Regions from separate parts of the Homo sapiens genome. Here region 2 is linked to region 1. Evidence: promoter capture Hi-C in 16 types of primary human blood cells and fetal thymus (Javierre and others, 2016). All regions are on one chromosome and are shown on one strand. The core of a region is centred on a gene start or on the middle of the fragment in contact, and the rest is flanking DNA. Distances in the headings are between cores, read along the strand shown.

Region 1 (5,634 bases), core at 254-2,753:
CACACCTATGATCATTTTGATAGACTAAAACACATAATTAAAATGTCTCAGCCCCAATAGGCACTTTTGTAGAAGAAATTAATCCTGACTTTCCAACATTAGACACAACGCAGAAATGTACGGTACCACACAGGATTTGACCAAGCAGGGCTAGAAGAGCAATAGGTGGGCGCAACATGGGGGCTTCAGGAAGCTTTTAGCAACAGCAGAAGGTAAAATGAATGCCGGAATGCCCAGAAAACGAGAAATTCCTTCCTGAGGAGCCTGCTTAGGCCCATTCACCATTCAACTGCTCCCAGGCATTCTAGTGGAAATTAGAAAAGAGGGCACAGGCCTTTTCTTTTAAAACATAAAACAAAACAAATTCCCACCAACAGCAACAAAAAAACTTAAGAGACTTTATAATTTGTTAACTATGGTCTTGTTGAGATATATTCTTAAAAATATTTTAAAATACTTGCAAATTAAAGAAAGGAGATGAATACCAGGCAAATATAACAAATCACTGTTAAAATGTTTTAGTGCATAGCATACATATGTACATGTGTGTATATATACCCACACACATACACACACACGTCCACTATATACATTCACCATGTAGCTTAAGACACACAAAAACCAAAGACAGTCATTTTCTCCATGTACCTGGCCAAATTCTTCTATAAGCTCCTTCTGGATAAGCTGGAATGCGTGCTCAGTTCTCACCATTATATCAAGAGCCCCAGATAGTGTTTTCAACTTTCCAACATTGCTATTCTGACCTAAAGTTTTAAATACAAAACGTTCATTTCTTTAATATAAATCTAGAAACCCATCTAATGTTAATGTATTAATGAAAATTCAGACTTTCAAAATGCTATAAAGGAAGCTAATGAGAATCTTAAATCTTCTAAATCCAACTTCTATTTAATAATATTCCCTTGACAAAAATACTAAGTCTGGACAAAGCAATAAATAATCATTGTTTCCCTGCCCCACCATTTGGTTTTGTCAAGACAGGCCACTTTTTCAGAACAGGAGCCTTAGGAAAAGGGACCAGCAGAAAAGAGTCTGGGGCTCGAGGCCCACCTCACATTTTACCAGTTGTGTGGTCAAGTCACATAAGCACTTAGTATCAGTTGTCCTATCTGTAAAATAGTTTATTACATCTCTGTTCAAAGGCAGGAAGTCAGACCAGATGAACAAGGTTTTGTTTTATTCTAGAGCCTTCTAACTACAATTTTTCTAGAGCTATCAGATACTACAGGACACCTTTGCTCCTGTTCTCCTAGAACTCAATTGTGTGCGGTGTGCAGTAGAGGATTAAATCTTGTACAGAGGTTTAGTCTTTGTCCTTGGCTCCCAGAAGGTAACCACTAAGTCCTTGAAATGTCCTGCCCGGTAAGAACGCCTTTGTTTACCTGGGGGTCCTTGGGTCACAATGGATAGCCTAACAATGGGATTTACTGTGGGGACTTTGGGCCCCAGGGTAACAGCTTGACCTCTGGAGGCACTGGAGACAAAGATCAGCCACGTGGCAGTCAACCATGTCTATCTGACCAAGTTCCAATGAAAACTCTGGACACCAAGGCTTGGGTGAGCTTCCGCAGTTGTACATGTATTGATTGATACACTTGGTGAGCACTGTCATGCATCACTGCCGGGGTGAGTTAGCACTATCTGTAACTCCAGCAGCAGAGGAACTGGGAGCTCCGCGCTTAGAACTCTCCAGGACTCTGCCTCCCGAGCCTCTTCCCTTGGCTGATTTTAATGTACATCCTTTCATTGTTAAGAAATTGTGGCTGTAAGCAGAACAGCTTTCAGTGAGTTCTGTGAGTCCTTTAGCAAATTCTCAAACCTGAGGGTGGTCTTGGAGACCGCCGACAGACTCGTAGTTAGTGTGAGAAGTGACAATGGTCTTGGGGACTCCCCGACTCTGCGGGTGGGGAGAGAATAACTGTTGCCTTCTTCCTTTAGAAGTATAATCCCACACTTTCTAAACAACCTATTCTCTTTAAAATCAATGGATCAATGTGATTTCAGCATAGATTTGGCATCTGGAAGACAAGCTATTGCTTATGTATGAAAGTGTTGTTGGGACAACGACCAGACAATATAGACATTAGGAAGGGAGGTCTGAATCATATGTACTAGAAAAAAAAAACAAAAAAAAAAACACTGGGTAAAATAAGATAGAATAAAAGGTGTCACAAACTAGAGCATTTATTAACTTGGCTTACAAAACCCACAAACCTGGCTAACAAAACCCTCTAAAATATTTACATTATTTTCTAAAGTACTCACAGTAGTAAAACATTTAAAGGAGAGAATTAAACACACTTATCATCTTAGCAAATTTGTTCCAGTATCTTCCAGCACTTTGGGAGGCCGAGGCAGGAGTATCGCTTGAGCTCAAGAGTTTGAGTCCAGCCTGGGCTTATAACATAGTGAGACCCTGTCTCTACAAACAATTTTTCCAAAATTAGCACTTGTGATCTCAGCTACTCGGGGAGGCTGAGGATCACTAGAGCCCAGATGGTCAAGGTTGCAGTGAGCCATGACCATGCCACTGCACTCCAGCCCATGTGACAGGGTAAAACTCTGTCTCAAACAAAACAAAACAAAACAAAAAACAAAACCCCAACAACAAAAAAGATGCTTGATCATTCTAAGGAATTCAAACATGGCAGAATATTCAAAGGTGCAAGTGAAAACTGAAGATCACTCTCCCCAAACCTTCCTCACATAAAGAGCTACTGTTAATTCTGGTGACTGTCCCACACATCTAGCCATGCGTTATATGCCAGCAAAAAATTAGTTTTAGTAAAAACCATTTTTAGAAACTGTTTTAGATAGGTAATACATTCCCAAATTTACAAGGTCCAAATGGGTATGCAGCAAAACCCCTCCTCTTGGCCTTCCAGGTTTCCTCCCCAAAGGGAACAATGTTACCAGTTTCTTATGCATCCTTCAGGGGCTACTGTATTATGTAAACTAAGTCATACAGATTTAAAGTATTAACCTTATTTTACAGCAGACTGAAAAACTAAATGAACTGCTGCACTTCAAATAATTGTTTCTTGTTTCTTTACCACACAGGAGATATTTCTCAAAAGACTCCTCTGCGGGAGAGGAGAATAGGTGAGCAAGAGAGAGAGGGGGAGAACTTAGGAAAAATCATTAAGTGGTTGAAGTATCTGCTTACTCCATGCCATGGAAAATAACATAAGAAAGCATTCTCACTTTCACCCTTCTCTATCTCCCGACTTATCTTGACCTCGGTCAGGCTCTACAGTAGTGTCTGTTCTGGAACCACAATCCAAGGGTCAGTTCTATGTTTAAGGGGTTCAATAAGGTCCACTACTCCTTTACTGTTGCCTCTCCATTCCCAAATTTTTCATGCCGATTTAAATCTTTTTTTTTGTTTGTTTTTGTTTTTTGAGACACAGTCTTGCTCTATCACCCAGGCTGGTGTGCAGTGGCACGATCTTGGCTCACTGCAACCTTCGCCTCCTGGGTTCAAGTGATTCTCCCACCTCAACCTCCTCAGTAGCTGGGACTACAGGCCTGCACCACCACACATGGCCAATTTTTGTATTTTTAGTAGAGACGGGGTTTCACTATGTTGGCCAGGTTGTTCTAGAACTCCTGACCTCAGGTGATCTGCCTGCCTCAGCCTCCCAAATTGCTGGGATTACAGGCGTGAGCCACTGTGCCTGGCCGATTGAATTCTTTAACTGTCTAAATTTATTTGTCAATTTTTTTTCCAAACTAGGGGTCATGGGCCATATCTCAGTATTTCTAGTCACTGAACATAATCTAATACATTCCTCTAAGTTTTAAAAAGCACTTCAAAACATGTAGTGATTTCTCACCCTCTCTACCCGAAGTCATTAACTATGGGGCAAATTAAAAAGAAAATAGTATTATTTAGATTCACAGGCCTGCCTTACTCTAAGACAATCCAGCACTAAGCCAATGCATACATATCTGAGAAATGAAAATTAAGACTTACTGGTCATCTGAAATTCAGCAAATGCTACTCTCTCTAGCTGTACTCTAAGCAGTTCGCAGGGAGCATCTTTCAGCAGCTGAAACAGCTTTGCGGCCTTGCTGTAATGAAGATCTGCCAGCACCCGGTGTTGTTTCCTAAGGTGTTCATCACCAACCTAGAACCAAACCAAAACAAGCAACAAATCCTTCACGGTAACTACTTCAGGCTTCACTAAGTGCTTCTTAGTTATTTTTCCCCCACTGTGGGTCTTACTAGGTCTTATTAGTTTTAGCTTTTATATTTAGGTCTTTAATCCATTTCCTTTCTTTTTTTTTTTTTGAGACAGGGTCTCGCTCTGTCGCCCAGGCTGGAGATGCAGTGGTGCAATCCTGGCTCACTGCAACCTCCGCCTCCTGAACTCAAGCAATTCCCCTGCCTCAGCCTCCCAAGTTGCTGGGATTACAGGCACCCGCCACTACTGCTTGGCTAATTTTTTAATTTTTTTCTGGGGTTTTGTCATGTTGGCTAGGCTGCTCTCTAACTCCCGACCTCAAATGATCCAACCACCTCGGCTCCCAAAGTGCTGGGATTACAGGCATGAACTGGAGAAGATTTCTTTCCACTTCGACTTAGGAAGTCCTCAACCAAAATTCAGGTTTGCCCAGATGGCCTAATATCCTGAGGGCAAAAGCAAGCTTAAGGGTGCCAAGACAATGCAGCAGAGGAGTAGTCTTTTCAGCAAATGGTGCTGGGACAACTAGATATCTATATGCAAAAGAGTGGGGAGGCCTGGGAGGCGGAGGTTGCAGTAAGCTGAGATCGTGCTACTGCACTCCAGTCTGGGCAACAGAGTGAGACCCTGTCTCAAAAAAAAAGAAAAAGAACTTCTCCAGTTTAAGCTGTATCTCAAAAGATACTTTTCAGAATAAAGGCAACCCAGAAGTAAACTCATGCCAAAGGGACTGTAAGGTAAGTAGTCTTACCTTACGGGGGGGGAAAATCAACAAAACAAACAAAAAAACATCACTGAGAAACTACAGGCCCAAGACTCGCAGCAAAAGCCAAGCAATCTCTCGGAAGGAAGTGCCTTTATCCTCGGCCTCAGATTATTCTCAGAAATACAGGCATTTGGGCACCAGGATTCATGTACAATCCTGCTGGCACTAGATTATTTCTAATAGCATCAAACTGGAATCTGGAATAACCCCAAAATTCACTAATCATAGACTAGATAAACTAAGATATAGTCATTTAATGACTACTGAGCTGAGAAAATGAACAGCTACGTGTGCCAACACAGATGTATCTCAAAAACACGATGTTAAGTGACAGGCAGTAAGCCACAGAACACCAACAGCGGATTCGTTTTCCCATGCTCAACATGGAGCACAATGCGGACATATTGTTTAAGTGGCACAGCACAAAAAAAGGCACAGACGCAGCAGAAAATTTAGGACAGCAGTTCACCTGAGTGGACGTCAAGGAAGACATATATGACCATGTTAAAAAAACAAAAAGCACCCAGAACACTTTTAAACTGATGTGGCACTGTACTTAACTTGGACTGACAATACCTGATTCCTCAGACAGCTGTGGTACATGGAGGCCAGCCTGTGATGGATGGTTGCAGCTCGATACTGACAAAGGGGCTGTCGAGC
Region 2 (5,634 bases), core at 828-3,327, 2.1 Mb before region 1:
GTTGGAATGTGGCCATGCCCATTCACTTGCTGCTGTCTGCAGCTGCCTTTGCGTCACAATGACAGGGCTGTGTAGGTGTGGCTGGGAGCTTATGGCCCACAAAGCCATGCGTATGCACCACCTGGCCCTTTACAGCAAGGCTGGCCAGCCCGACCTTCCACGAGCGTTTCTCAGCGGAAGCAGTGTCACCTCTGAGTGGGTATTTAAGAAATTGCTTCTGGTGAGTGTAGGTCAAGCTCATTGCAAGACAAGTTCCATGCTATAAAAGCTACTTTTCTTTAAGTTCTTATACTTCCACTTTATATTAAAGTTAAGACATTATGTTTATCTTTTGCGATTTGGAGCATAGATAGGTGATCATCTGTATGGGTTTCATTACAGGGCATTAGAGAGCGTCTGTTAGAAGAGCAGGGCATTGATTTTGATGCAATGAGGCAGTTTCTTTAGAGGGCCCACGAGGCCCTAGATTCCGCATCAGCTTTAAGTGGCAAAGCCACACAGCTATTTCAAGAGCACAGCACTAGAGGGCAGCATAAGCCCATGAGTGCAACGCCAGAGCTCTGCGCCCTGGGCACCGCCGCTTCCCGAAGGCTGCAGGACTGGGGAAGGCTTGTGCCACCAGGACCTGAGCACTCAGCAGGAGTGTCAGGCCTCTGGGCCTGGGTCAGAGCTGATGGAGAGACCGTTCCAGCATGTGAGACGCTGGAGGGAACTGAAACCCACCTGCTGCACATGCATACTTCCCCGGTGGTTTTGGAAATGCTCTTGTTGTCAAAGATGTCCCTTCACACGGGGCTCTGCCTTCCCCACTGCCCTCCTGCACAGGCACAGCACATGTGTGCACACTAAGACTTCCAGGAATCTGTCCATCTAGCTGAACTGATTTTTCCCCCCAATTTATTCGACATTAGGATCTTTCGTGCGAGCCCGCGTGTGTGTCTAAACTTAGCCACATCAGGAAGCTGACACTGGTAAGTGATGACTTAACATTGTGGGAGATGTCCTTCTACACACCTGTGGGTTCCATGGATTCAGCCAACTTCGGATTAAAAAACAGTTTTATGTTTCTTTGTTTTTTTTTGTTTTTTGTTTTTTTTGACGGGTTTTGTTCTGTCACCCAGGCTGGAGTGCAGTGGTGTGATCACGGCTTACTGCATCCTAGACCTCTGGGTCATGCAATCCTCCTGACTCAGCCTCCCGTGTAGCTGAGGTCACTGGTGCCCGACCCCACATCCAGCGTTTTTTTTTTTTTTTTGTAGAGATGGGGTCTTACTTTGTCTCCCAGGCTAGTCTCCAACTCCTAGGGTCTAGTGACCCAGCCTCCCAAAATGCTGGGATTATAGGCGTAAGCCACTGCACCCTGCCAGGATAAAAAATACTTTAAAAAACAATAAAAATCACAATACAACAATGAAAAATAATACCAATTCTAAAAAGACAGTATAACAACCATTTACTTGGCATTTGCATTGTATTAGATATATATAAGTAATCTAGAGATGATTTAAAGTACACAAGAGGATTGTGTAAGTTCTATGCAAATACGACACTATTTTATATCAGGGACTTGAGCATCTGCAGATTTTGTTACCATGGGGGTCTTGGAACCAATCCCCCTCGGATACCAAGGAATGACTGCATATATATATATATTTTAAGTTGGGATTCTTGTTCATTTTCAAACCATCTTTGCTAATATGGCAGTTGGCTTCCCTGGGCAGGAGGGAGCATGCCATGTGCAGACAGCATGCCCCTCCCCTACACAGGAAAGAGGGCCTGTGTGCACGGAACTGCATCCGTCTCTAAGGGGAGAGCGGGGCTCCTGGATCCTAGACACTCTGACACAGCATCCATCACACTTGTGGGCCGGTTTGCTTCTCCTGATCTCTAAGTCTCTCTCAGGCTCCCTCTTGTCCGGGGACACTGTGACAAAAGCAGCTGGAATGTTCAGGATTAACAAGACAGTCTTATTTAAGAAACAGATGCAGAGCACCCTGAAACCCCTGGCAGTGCCCGCGTTGCCATGGCTTTTCCACTCAGCGTGGAAGACCATGAGTCGTGCATCTCCCTGCTGGACCATGGCTTCTGGAGATGGAGGATGGCAGGGCCAGGTGTGATGTTGTCCTCCTGTCCAGCTCCTCCTGCATTGTAGGATGTCTGTCATAACCTGGTCTTAGAAGCCAAGAAGAAATGCAAACCTGTCCCAATAGGCCTCGCTTTGGCAACAGCCAGTGAACAGGTAGATTAACGTCACCACTCAGGCCATTTGGTCACCTGCTCACCAAGGTGCCACCACCACTGACACCAGGCTTATGAGGGTTTCCATCCCCATTTATGATGCTACCAGGAAGCTGATTTTAGCCACAGCCATTTAAAAAAACAAAACCTGTTGTGTCCTTGTAGATCCAAAGTGTTGGAAATCTTCCCTTTTTCCCCCAGCCTCGCCCACCTACCATTTCAATGTAACCTCCCAAATTCTTCCACAGAGCATTGTTGAAGGCTCTGAGAATCTTTCAACCTCCTCCACAAAGCCCTCCAGGGCCCCCGTCACAGCATTCCCTTGGCATTTTATTTGTGGCTCTTGGACACCGTTGTCCCCACCCTTCATGACAGGCCGGGGACTCCTGGCACTGGATCCTTTTTGCGTAAAGTAAGCTGATTGAATTAAGCACGCATCACTGAAATGCTTTGCTTTCCATGGAACCACACTGCCTCTGAATGAGAATCTGCTGCTCTTTAAATGCTCACCGACCCGCCGTCAACGAGCTGTTGTGAGGTTCTACCAGGAATCGGAGGCGTTATGCACAGACCTCCTTTCCAGCCTCTCCTCCCTGCCCCTTGTGGTCAATGCTGCTTTGGATGCTCCCATTTCCTGGGGGCCCGGAGATCCCGCTCACCTAGAGGGGATGGGCCCTGCTGGCTCTTCTCTGTGTCCTGCCTGGCCCTGCCATCCTCCTTCTAGCTGCAGAAGAGGGGAGTCTGGGGACTAGGGCCTGCCTCCTTCCCCTGGGGCACAGCTTCTGCCAGGCACAGCGCCATCCCCCAGGTCACACCAGTTCTTGGATGTCCCCATCAAAGCCTCTTGTTCCTCCTCTGGAAAAACTCTAAGTGGAAATTATAAAAAGTTCTCCAGAAGGTCTAGTCAGAAAAGTCTTGAAAAGACGAGCGGTCCCTAGAACTCCAGGCCAACCCCAATCTCTCTGACCTCCCTCCTCTTGTCCTCTTCCCTAAAACCACAGCCTCTCCCCTCTACTGGCACCTCTTGTCCCCATGAAGCATCCTCTGGGCCCCTCCTCAAGGCAAACACATCAAGGAGTTGCCTGGGGCACCTGCCTTCTTCTCTGCTGTTCCACCCCACTGGGTGGCACCCGATGTGCTCCTGCTTTCAGCTGCCCTTCCCGCAGACGCTGCTCCTGCACAAGGCTCCAGGGGCCTCCCAGTCACAGCCTCTCCCCAGGCAGTGCCAGCTCCACCTCACCTGACCTCTCGGGCCCAGACCCATCCCTCTGCCTTGGCCTCCTCTGGCCCGAGCCGCCCAGCACTTTGCCCAGGTGGCCTTCCTGGCACCCTGCCTCTCCCTCCTTCTCCACGGTTGGACCCGAGCTTCACTGCTAGTCGCAGCCCATGGGGTGCTGCCTGGGGTGGCCGCTCTGGAGGCCCTGGCTGTCCCTCTTGGTCTTTCACTATGGGCCCCCCACCCTGAGACAAGTGACCTCCCACCCAGGGGAGGCTGGTCCCTCCTCCTAGCCAAGTCCCACTGTTGTCTTGTGGCCAGAAAAGGAAAGGAAGTGGCCCCCAAGTCAGCAGTGGGGGTTTATGGACCACATTTGTAATTAACTTGAAAAACAACGCATGAGCTGAACGCCTGGTCTGGTGCTTGTCCTGGGTTTTGAATGTTCTCTTCACCTGTCTCAGAGAGTGACATTTATACAAACTTCTTTCTTCTGTGTCCTTATGAACAGTATCCAAAATGGGACCTTAGGTCTGCCTCATCTGAAGCATTCGCAGGCCAACGAAGCCATCTGCGCGCAGGCCCAGGTGTGTCTTGCAAGGCGGCAGCAGCCCTGCCTCTGGCTGTCAGCTTTGCCCTGGTGGGAGGGATTCATTTCTCTCTCCATCTAGTGAGTTCCCACTCAGTTCATCGCCTTTGAAAAACAAGCTCCCTGGCAGTGGGGCTTTTAGATTGAGATGTAAAAGTTAATTGTTTTATTGAACTTTAAAGAAAAGAACAACCACCACCAGCTAACAGGAAGCGCTTAGGAGTTGCTTGCTAATTTATTCTTATAACGAGTTTTGATTAGATATTGATTGTCACGGGCTCCAGGGGGAACCTCCATTCGGCCCCTCTGGAGGGTGGATGGAGTCAAGACTACATGCACTTCTCATTTTGTAATTAATTCATTTTTTAAAAGAAAGCAATCAGGAAGAATCTCATGAAGCTGGAAATCTCCCCAAACAAAATATTCCCAAAGGCTTTGCCAGGCTTTCTGGTACTGAGTGGGGCAGCTGCTGGTGCTCAGCGCAGGCATTAGGTTAATAGAGTCGTGCTTAATCCTTCTTACACTGGAAACTTGTTTGTATTCTGAGCAAAGGACTTCCTTCCCTAACCTCTAAGGGGAAGGATTCGCCTCGTTCCTTCCCACCTTCTTCCCCTTTGATGGGATTACCGCAGCTTGGGAAGGATTCATTTCACCTAGCCGGCTCTGACGGATGGCCTTTTTGCAGGGCCAATTCAGAAACATCCATGGCCGGAGGGAAAAGCTCACATTTCTTCTTGAACAATTATTCCTCACAGGTTCCATTTCAGTCCTTTTTCAATAGAGATTTTCCATACATTTCCAGCTCTCAGATTCTCTCAGTAAGATGATCGTTCTTTCAAACAGAACTCTAAGAAAGAAGGCAGATTCTTTTTTTTTTTTTTTTGGTGTCCTTCATTTTGTTAAATGTGCATTTTTGATCTATCTGAATTAACACAAGGGGGTTAATTCCGTACCAACTACCAGAAAGGAGCCAATATTGTGGCATGGCAGAAGCTTGTACTGTCAAGTTGCCCGTGGGAATGGGAATGGGAATGGGAAGAGTTGATGTATTTTTCACCATCTTCTGCATAGGGTGTAACCTGAAGGTCCCTGTGCTGGCCCTGGGAAGGGGCGCGAGGGCTTGTCCCTTCAGGGACTTTGCTCCCCCCTCGGTCTCCCCCAGGGCCTTCCTCCTTGCCTGCCAGGGACCCTCCTCATGCCCCTTGTCCGTGCCTCCCCAGCTGCTCTCTATCCCATGGCCCCCTTTTCAATGTATGCCAGGCACTTTATGTTTTGGTTTGTCCAGTCTCTGTCCGCACCCTCTTTCTCTAAAATCTAAGTGCCCTGAGGGCAGGCCCAGAGCTGAATATACCCCCAAACAGCCCCCGGCCCATTGGCAGCCACAAATGTCTGTTGAGCAAGCGAGTGGTGGGTGAGAGCAGATTGCTGGTGCGCTGGCTGTGGACCCTGGAGAGTTCTTTGGCATCTATAAGCCCCGGTCCATTCCCCAGGTAACAGGGGACTGCTTTTTTTATTTTTTATTTATTTATTATTATAATTTTTTTTTTTTGAGACTGAGTCTCTCTCTGTCGCCCAGGCTGGAGTGCGGTGGCGC

The links. The method cuts DNA at HindIII sites, captures the fragments that hold promoters and counts their contacts. A CHiCAGO score of 5 or more calls a contact.
Region 2: a contact is called between a fragment that was not itself captured here and the fragment with the promoter of EDRF1-AS1 in region 1, in 1 of 17 cell types (neutrophils). The highest score is 6.6, in neutrophils.

What each region holds. Positions count from the first base shown.
Region 1 is chr10:125,747,929-125,753,562 of GRCh38, reverse strand. EDRF1-AS1 (EDRF1 antisense RNA 1) reads left to right here and starts at 1,503. Exons shown (of 5, transcript NR_120633.1): 1 at 1,503-1,578; 2 at 3,082-3,123; 3 at 4,035-4,188. It overlaps EDRF1 (erythroid differentiation regulatory factor 1), which reads right to left. Exons shown (of 25, transcript NM_001202438.2): 21 at 5,551-5,634; 22 at 3,998-4,151; 23 at 649-764. The HindIII fragment of the contact is 4,478 bases long and covers 196-4,673 here.
Region 2 is chr10:127,849,064-127,854,697 of GRCh38, reverse strand. No RefSeq gene overlaps it. Among named protein-coding and RNA genes, the nearest start is that of CLRN3, 41 kb to the left of the region's middle. RefSeq lists a silencer at 529-608. The HindIII fragment of the contact is 5,917 bases long and covers 1-5,035 here.